2 separate regions of the Homo sapiens genome follow, and region 1 is linked to region 2. The links are contacts of gene promoters, found by promoter capture Hi-C in blood cells and fetal thymus (Javierre and others, 2016). All regions are on one chromosome and are shown on one strand. The core of a region is centred on a gene start or on the middle of the fragment in contact, and the rest is flanking DNA. Distances in the headings are between cores, read along the strand shown. Region 1 holds the start of NOL10 (nucleolar protein 10). Region 2 holds the start of RNASEH1 (ribonuclease H1).

Evidence for each region. Contacts are between HindIII fragments. The CHiCAGO score rates a contact against its expected background, and 5 or more counts as called.
Region 1: the fragment with the promoter of NOL10 here is called in contact with the fragment with the promoter of RNASEH1 in region 2 in 1 of 17 cell types (monocytes); the score reaches 7.8 in monocytes.

Annotation. Positions count from the first base shown.
Region 1 is chr2:10,687,703-10,692,268 of GRCh38, reverse strand. It overlaps NOL10 (nucleolar protein 10), which reads left to right and starts at 2,294. Exons shown (of 21, transcript NM_024894.4): 1 at 2,294-2,473. The coding sequence starts at 2,408. It also overlaps the pseudogene RN7SL832P. RefSeq lists enhancers at 2,448-2,727, 2,788-2,847. The HindIII fragment of the contact is 7,879 bases long and covers 1-4,566 here.
Region 2 is chr2:3,555,158-3,559,612 of GRCh38, reverse strand. It overlaps RNASEH1 (ribonuclease H1), which reads left to right and starts at 1,280. Exons shown (of 8, transcript NM_002936.6): 1 at 1,280-1,480; 2 at 2,709-2,824. The coding sequence starts at 1,353. RNASEH1-DT (RNASEH1 divergent transcript) reads right to left here and starts at 1,227. Exons shown (of 3, transcript NR_038429.1): 1 at 615-1,227; 2 at 1-165. RefSeq lists silencers at 829-1,148, 1,519-1,618 and an enhancer at 1,179-1,428. The HindIII fragment of the contact is 22,605 bases long and covers 1-4,455 here.

The DNA of each region.
Region 1 (4,566 bases), core at 1,045-3,544, 7.1 Mb before region 2:
CTGGGGTTTCTTTTTGTTCTAAAAATGATTGTGGTGATGGTTGCAGAACTCTGAATACACTAGAAGTCATTACATTGTACATTCAATGGGGACATTTTACAGTATGTTAATTATATCTCAATAAAACTGTTAAAAAGGAAATGTTAATGGAATTTGGATACATTTCCACTTATTTGGTATATGGCTTTATTTTCAGTTTTATTTTACAAACACTTACATGGTCTTACTATGTGCCAAGTACTGGGTTCCAAACGTTTTATAAATATGAATGTATTTCATCCTCATAACTCTGTGAAGTGGATACTACTGTTATCTCCATTTTACACAGGTACAGAGAGGTTAGGTAACTTACCTAAGGTCTTTCAGTTAAAAATGGCAGTCGGGATTTGAATCTTGCCAGTCTGGCTTCAGAGTCTGTGATCTTTATTTATTTTTCAAGAGATAGGGTCTTGCTGTGTTGCCCAAGCTGGAGTACAGTGTTAGTCACAGGCATGATCCCATTACTGGTGAGCATGGGAGTTTTGACTTGCTCCATTTCTGACCTGAGCCGCTTCACACCTCCTTAGGTAACATGGTGGTCCCTGGCTCTTGTGGGGTCACCATATTGATGCCAAACTGAGGACACCCAACGCTCGTTGCGTGCTACAGCCAAGAACTCCTGGGCTCAAGTGATTCTCCTGCTTCGGCTTCACTAGTAGCTAGGACAATAGGCCTGCACCACCAAGCCAAGCCAGAGTCTGTGATCTAACCATTCTATTATGCCACCTTTCCCAAAGATGTTTACAGTTTTTCTTAACTGTAACCAGTGTAGAAAATTAAAAATTTGTGGAGGATCTTAAATTTGAGGACAGAGTTAAGGAATATATCCCTACGTACATGGCTAAATGTAAATATGTAGCAATGCCTAATAGAGGCCAGGCACTGTTCTGGTACTCTGGGTAGGGGTGGATGGGGTGGATAGGGAATATAAGGACAAATGATATAGGGTCCACGAAGAACTCTCAACCTAATTCTGATGCAATGTGGTGTTGGTATTTGAGAGTTTCCAAAATGTTGTGGGTAGGAGAGCAAAACAATAATATTTGGGTTTTAGAAAGTAAGGCATAAAATAATTTGTTCATTAAATCAAAGGAAGTAAGAAGATCACTTGGGAAAGTTATAATCCAAAAATAGTTAAGTATTTGAGTTTCAGCAGGAGGAATGAAAACAGATTACTTTAAGGAAATATTTCATAATTAGAAATATCCAGGTTTAGATACTGAAAGTGAGGGCCAGAGATAGGAATGGGTTGAAGATGACGCCACAGTCTTCTTTTTTTTTTTTTTTTTTTTTTGAGACGGAGTCTCACTCTGTTGCCCAGGCTGGACTGCAGTGGCACGATCTCAGCTGACGGCAACCTCTGCCTCCCGGGTTCAGGCGATTCCCCCACCTCAGCCTTCAGAGTAGCTGAGATTACAGGCGCGCGCCACCAGGCCCGACTGATTTTTGTATTTTTAGTAGAGACGGGGTTTCACCATCTTGGCTAGGCTGGTCTTGAACTCCTGACCTCAGGTGATCCGCCCGCCTCGGCCTCCCAAAGTGTTAGGATTACAGGCGTGAGCCACCGCACCCGGCCTACAGTACTTCTAACGTAACATCGCAGAAACACTGGAGGAGAGAAGAGAATACACTTCCACTCGGAATTCGCACCCTGGTCGCCTTCATTCGCTGGGTTCACTCGCTGAACTGCCTCGCCCCCGCCCGGGAGGATGACATCTCGGCCTGGGCAGAGACTCGAAAGCCTCCTCCTGCCGCTCGGGATGCTAACAGCAGGGAGAGCTGTGTCTAGTTTTTTTTTTTTTTTTTTTTTTTTTGAGAGGGAATCTCGCTCTGTCCCCCAGGCTGGAGTGCAGCGGCGCGATCTCAGCTCACTGCAACCTCCGCCTCCCAGGTTCAAGCAATTCTCCTGCCTCAACCTCCCGTGTAGCTGGGACTACAGATGCCGGCCACCACGCAAGGCTAATTTTTTTGTATTTTTAGTAGAGACGGGGTTTCACCATATTGGTCAGGCTGGTCTCGAACTCCCGACCTCAGGTGATCCGCCCGCCTCAGCCTCCCAAAGTGCTGGGATTACAGGCGTGAGCCACCGCGCCCGGCTTGTGTCTAGTCTTGCCCGTAGCAGCGTCGCCGACAGCCACGCCGGGTTGTCAGAGCCTCACTAGTTTTTCTCCCGGCCGCCGCTCTTCCCGGATTCAGCCACCTTCCCTCTTCCGGGAACTTGCCCGCGTGTTCCGGCTCCAGGAAGTGCGTCATCAGTCGGCGCCAGCGGCCGCACGCCGCGGAGCAGGGGCTCGGAGGTCCCGGGATTACGGTGCTCGAGCACGCTGGTGGGAAAGGACCCGGGACTTGAACAGTGTTGTGCGGCGCCATGCAGGTCTCCAGCCTCAATGAGGTGAAGATTTACAGCCTCAGCTGCGGCAAGTCCCTTCCTGAGGTGAGTCACTTCCCGGCCCCCTCACTCTCGAGCTCTTGGGGGTCGTCCTCCTCGTGGGGCAGCCGCCCCTCTCCTCGGCCCTAGCCTCTGTTTTAGCTGGACGCTGGTCACCCCCCGACTCGGGGAGGCCCAGAGGCGGCTGACAATTTCCGGGGGAGGTGTCGGCATTGGGAGACAAGGACACTGCCGTCACCGCGCCAGAAACTGGACCAAGGGATAATCAGGGTCAGTGAGCTTTGCTGGAACTTTTGTAAAGTTCTCTGTTCCAGAGAACGCAACCATTTGGGCCTCTTTGGGTGTTCACAGTCCCTGCCGTACATCGAGGAGGAAAACGTGGCAGATTCGTTGACACATCTCTCCCCCATATGGCCATCAGCTGTTTGTGGAGTCCCTATCATTTGCCAGGTCTTAGGGATACAACAGTGAACAAGGGAGATACAGACTTCGCATCTGCAGAATTTATGGTGTAGAGGACAGTATTTTCGAGACTTGTTGAACTTAACCTGATTCCTAGTCTTAAAGTTGGAGAGGGCTTGGACAAGTCGGTAATTCTCTTCCAATCTTCTCGTGTTTAGTAATGCAGCTGAGATTTAATAATGCGTTTAATATGCAGCTGAGATCCAGCAAGGGGAAGGGTGACTTGTCCAGCATGACACACTTAGGCTCTGAAACTTGTCTTTTGTTTCTTATACGTGATGATCCAGCCTCTGTCCAAGCACTACCACTGAGCACTACCTTTTGTGGAAGCTCATTTCCATTTTGAGACTCTGCACTTGTTAGAAAGTGGTTTTCAAATATGTCACCTTATAGCATGCCACTGTTGGCCTGAGTCCTGCCCTTGGAAAACAGAATAAATATAGCTCTCCTTCCATGCGTCTGCTTCTACAAAAATTTGGAGCCAGTGCTTAGGTTTTTCCTTTCTTCCTAAAATTCTGGTTTGAATAATTCCCTGTCTTCCAGTTGTTCTTCACACCCCATGAGCTTTCTCATTTTGTTCATTCATTCTCCACATGTATTGAGAAGTTACTGTGTGCAAGCAACTCTGTTTTAAGTATTGGGATCTATAGTGGACATTTCAGATAAGGTTCCCTGTTGGGGAAAAGGGAAATAAACAAGTGAGCAAATAAGGCAATTTAAGGTAGTCAAAAAGTACTTTTCGTGGTGAATGATTAGAAGAGAGCTGTTTTGGATAAAATATTGAGAGAAAGTGTTTTGGATAAAACCTTCGGGGAAGGCCTCTCTACAAGAGGTGACATATGAGCAGAAACTTGGATGATGAAGAGGAGCCAGTCGTGTGAAGATGTGGGGAAGAGTTTTCAGTGCTGAGAACAGAAAGTGCAAAAGCCCCACATGGGAATGCACTGGACATGTAGGAGGACGGAAGAGGCACAGGTGTGATTGCACTATGCTGAGTGAGGGGGCGAGAGCAGGGTGGATGAGGCTGGAGAGGTAGGCCTGGTAGGAAAGGTAGGAAGTTCAAGTTTTATTCTTAGTGCTGCTGGAAGTCACTGTTGTGTGGGCTGCTGTGCGACAAATGTCTAGCTGGGGAGGGTTCAAGTCGGGATGAATTAGGTAGTCCAGGTGAGCGACTTCGGTGGCTTGGGCTTGCCTGGTAACAAAGAAGATGCTAAAACACAGTGAGATTCAGGACATACTTTGTAGATAGGGTAATGGAACTTGCTAATGGATTGGACTGTTGGTAGAGGGAAGTTGAGGTGACAAAAAGGAAGGAATCAGAGAACTCTTCAGTTTTGAGTCTGAACAAGTGGGTGCACGGTGGTGCTGCTAACTGACATGGAGAAGAATCAAGAAGGAACACATTGAAAGGTGGAGAGGAGGAACGTAGTGAGCAAAAAGAATCAAGATTTTTTTTTGAGGTCGCGTGCAATGGCCTGATGTTGGCTCACTGCAACCTCTCGGGTTCAAGCGATTCTCCTGCCTCAGCCTCCCCAGTAGCTGGGACTACAGGCACGTGCCACCACACCAGCTAATTTTTGTATTTTTAGTAGAGACGGAGTTTCACTATGTTGGCCGGTATGGTCTCGATCTGATCTTGTGATCCACCCACCTCGGCCTCCCAAAGTGCTGGGATT
Region 2 (4,455 bases), core at 31-2,530:
ACTGTATTTGCTCAGGCGTTCTGATGTGAGGCCCTCCTGACTCTCCAGGTGCGGGTGCTTCTCTGCTCTGTGTCTCTCACCTCCAACAGCTTGTTCTGCCTGCGCACTATTTGCTGATGTGTTATCTCCGGGGATTCTCGAATTTCTCACCTTCATCCCCAAGGCCTGACAAAATACATGGCAGGTGTGCAAAAGGCTTGTTAGAAGACCTTAAGAAAATTAAAGAAAAGTGGTTTAAAAATAATTCGAATAACAATGTTTGCCAATGGAGACTTTTTTTTTTTTTTTGAGACGGAATCACGCTCTGTCGCCCAGATGCAACCTCCACCTCTCGAGTTCGAGCGCCTCTCCTGCTTCAGCCTCCTGAGTAGCTGGGATTACAGGCGCAGGCGACCACGCCCGGCTAATTTTTGTATTTTTAGTAGAGACAGGGTTTCATCATATTGGCCAGGATGGTCTCGATCTCCTGACCTGGTGATCCACCCGCCTTGGCCTCCCAAAGTGCTGAGATTACAGGCGTAAGCCACCACGCCCCTCCAACCCATGAACACTTTTAAAATTACTTGATTTGCTTACAGAGCAAAAGGTCAAATGGGGAGAATTCTAAAAGTTACCTTCTCAACTCAGTTTTCTCCCGGGTCGTGGTGCTTGAGGCACTGGATATCCCCTGGTTAAACACCCACGTGCAGTGGAGCAGGGAGGGGACGCGCCCCTTCGGGGGTGGGCGCCCAAGGCAAGGGGAGGAATGCGGCTTCCACGGCCTCCCCTCTCGCCCTCCTTTGTGCTTATTCTAATTCATGAATTCTAACATCTTTCTGCCCACTAAAAAATGTGCATTCATTCATCTGGCCACAGCCCTTACTGTAGATCCGCATCCCTGGAGCTCTCGAGGAGCCGCGGTTACCGCACGTGGGTGCCGGGCGCCAGGGGGTTCAAGGGCTTCCCGCGGTGACCCGAGCACGCCGGGGCGTGGCCCCCGAACTGCGGCCTGGGGGCGGGGAGAGAAGGGGCCCAACATGGTCCATCTCGACCTTCCTCTGCCGGGCCCAGGGCTTCAGCCCCGCTCCCATAGGCCCCGCCCCATCCCAGACCTCGCCCGCCTTCGGGATCTCAGCCCTGGCTCCGCTTCTTCAAGTACCGACAGGAAGTTGACGAGTTCGGGCTCGTCAGGGGCCGAGCTCCGGGCTCCGCCCTACGACACCGCCCCTCCCTAGGCCCCGGCCCTCATCAGGACTCCGCCCAGACGTGCGTCATCTTCCCGCGCCGGTGACGGAAGTGCGGTGTTGAGCGCCGGCGGCTCGCGCCCACGCTGGGCCGGGAGTCGAAATGCTTCCCGGTGCCGGGAGTGAGCGATGAGCTGGCTTCTGTTCCTGGCCCACAGAGTCGCCTTGGCCGCCTTGCCCTGCCGCCGCGGCTCTCGCGGGTTCGGGATGTTCTATGCCGTGAGGAGGGGCCGCAAGACCGGGGTCTTTCTGACCTGGTGAGTGGCCCGCCCGCCGAGGCGCCTCCCTGCCGGCATCGGGGTCGAGGGAGGCCGGAGCCCGGCTAACCCCGGCGGCGGGAGCCTGGCGGTCCGAGTCTGTGCCGCGCGCTGTGGCTGTGGGTGGTCGGGGGACCGCCTCGTTTTCCTGCTCGGCCGGCGGGGTTCCAGGAGGCTCATGGCCTGGGACTGGAACGCACCGAAGACTTGTTTGAAATATCAGAAACGTCGCGTAAAGGTTAGGGGTGGCCTAATAAACCCTGTGTTTAATCCTCCATCTTTGTTGCAGTTAAAGTGCAACAAAAAGTGACACGTAATCAGAACGAACCCCCGTTACCAGAAGACTTTCCGTACCAGCTAAATTGGGATTGGAACTCAGTACCTAATCTTCCCTTTTAAAAAAGGCAAATTCTAATAAGCCAGTATTTGCAGTTGGATCCTTGTAACAACCCTTGGAGGTGAGAGGGATTATTCTCACTTTCAGGTATAGTTCTTGGGGTCAGGAAGTTCCCAGGGCATGTAACTGACAGAGAAAGGACTTGAGCCCAGCTGTTCTGACTGTACCACCAGAACTCTTCCCACTACAAGATACCAAAGTTCGTTACCTGTGTTTCCCCATGCACGGCAGCTACAGTATTGAGGAAGAAGCATCTCAGAAGTTGACCTTTTTGTTGTAAAGAAATGGTTAATATTTTTTTCAAAGACCGCAGTATTTTGTTATGCTTTGAGTTTGACGAAAGCCTTATGGTGCTGGTGTGCTGGCTGGCTGGCATACAGTAGAACACAGGTGTAGAGTCTGACGTGCAGGATAAAACTATAAGGTGCGACTCTGCCCTTTTCACGCAAAAATTGGTCCTCTATATCCAGTTTGCATCCTCAGTTTCAGCTAACCATAGATCAAAAATATTTGGAAAAAATTAAAATAGAATACAGTTTTAAAATACGCATAAAAAGACAATACAACTATATAGATTGTATTAGGTATTATAAACTAGAGATGATTTAAAGCATGCAAGAAGATGTGTGTGGGTTATTTGCAAATACACCATTTTATGCAAAGGACTTAAGCATCCTCTGATGTTGGTATCTGTGATGGGGTGGAGGACTTCCTGGAATCAGTCTCCCTCAGATACCAAGGGACAACTGTATTTCCAACCTTAAGAATCTCAATAAAAAAGGGGATAAGTTAGAGAAGGAAGAAGGAAATAACATTGCACATCTTTTCCAGGAATGAGTGCAGAGCACAGGTGGACCGGTTTCCTGCTGCCAGATTTAAGAAGTTTGCCACAGAGGATGAGGCCTGGGCCTTTGTCAGGAAATCTGCAAGCCCGGAAGTTTCAGAAGGTAGTCACCTCTCATATCAGTGTGACATTTTAACCTATTCAAAGGCTTTCATATGCCAGATGGCATTTGATCTATATAGCTACCCTCTAGGCATGTAGGGAACCTCGTGTGATTGTTTTCATTTTACAAATTAGGGAACAGACTGAAAGCAGTTACAAATAGTGGTTCATATTACTTACAGTATTAGGGATAAGCCAGGACTCAGCTCTCCTGTTCCATTCAGCCTTTTATGCCATAATTCCTTGTCTTTTTTTAAAAAAATACTTGTCCAGCCTGGCCAACATGATGAAACTCCATCTCTACTAAAATACAAAAATTAGCTGGGCATGGTGGCGCACACCTGTAATCCCAGCTACTCGGGAGGCTGAGGTGGGAGAATTGCTTGAGCCCGAGAAGTGGAGGCTACAGTGAGCCGAGATTGCACCACTGCACTCCAGCCTGGGTGACAGGGCAAGACTCGTCAAAAAAAAAAAAAAAAAACTTACATAGTTATTGGACTGGATGGGCTACAGTTTACAGGAATGAGTGTGGTTCTTTCCATGGCATGCCCCTTTGTGGTGTTGCCTTTTTATTGAGAACAGAGTCACACAATCTGAATTTCTTCTTTTTTTTTTTCCTTGAGACAGAGTCTCTGTTGCGCAGGCTGGAGTGCAGTGGCACAATCTTGGCTCACTGCAGTCTCTGCCTCCTGCGTTCAAGCGATTCTCCTGCTTCAGCTTCCGGAGTAGCTGGGATTACAGGTGCGTGCCACCACGCCCGGCTAATTTTTGTATTTTTTTTAGTAGAGATGGGATTTCACCATATTGGCCAGGCTGGTCTTAAACACCTGACCTCAAATGATTCACCTGCTTTGGCCTCCCAAAGTGTTAGGATTCCAGGCATGAGCCACCACGCCTGTCCAATTTCTTCCAATTTTATGTGTTATAGAAAGTACGGTTATTCAAAGTTTAAAGCCCAATATAAGATTAATTCCCAATATAATTGGAAGTTTAAAGCCCATTATGCAGACTCAGATGAGCAGGGTGACGACTTTAGAGCGCAAGATTTTAAAAATATTTCTGGATCTACACTGAGGAGGTGATCTTACGTGAATGTTACTTACAAACTTTTTACTATAGCAAATTAAGACTGAGCAGAGCATAGTTTTAATTACCTTATCTTGAACAGCCTCTCTAGAGGCCACTGAGATGCTTGAACCTGAACAACTGCTCCTTCGAATCATCGTAACAATCCTGGACAAAGCACAATTCAGAGCGAGGCAGGTTGTGTCCAGAATGGATCCCTGAAGAGTTAGTTTGCAAAGCAGGGTCGACCCTCACTCAGTGCATCTGCTTCACCCTCTCTCTCTTCAATAGCTTTTAAAGGAGATTCTGTTTGAGAATGAGGACACGTGAAAAAGGCTCATCGATGTGACAGTTCTTACTGCTTACTGCATGACAGCCAATAAGCTGAGAGACAAGGTGTTGGGGCAAGGAAGGCGACTTTTTTCCGAGAGCCAGCAAGTCAAGAAGATGGTGGACTAGTGTCCTGAAGAACCATCTTAAGTTAATAGAACTTGAGACTTCTTTTATGTTAAGGGAAGGGGAAAGAAAGGCGGAGGTGAGATCAGGAGGAGACCGATGAGCACAGAC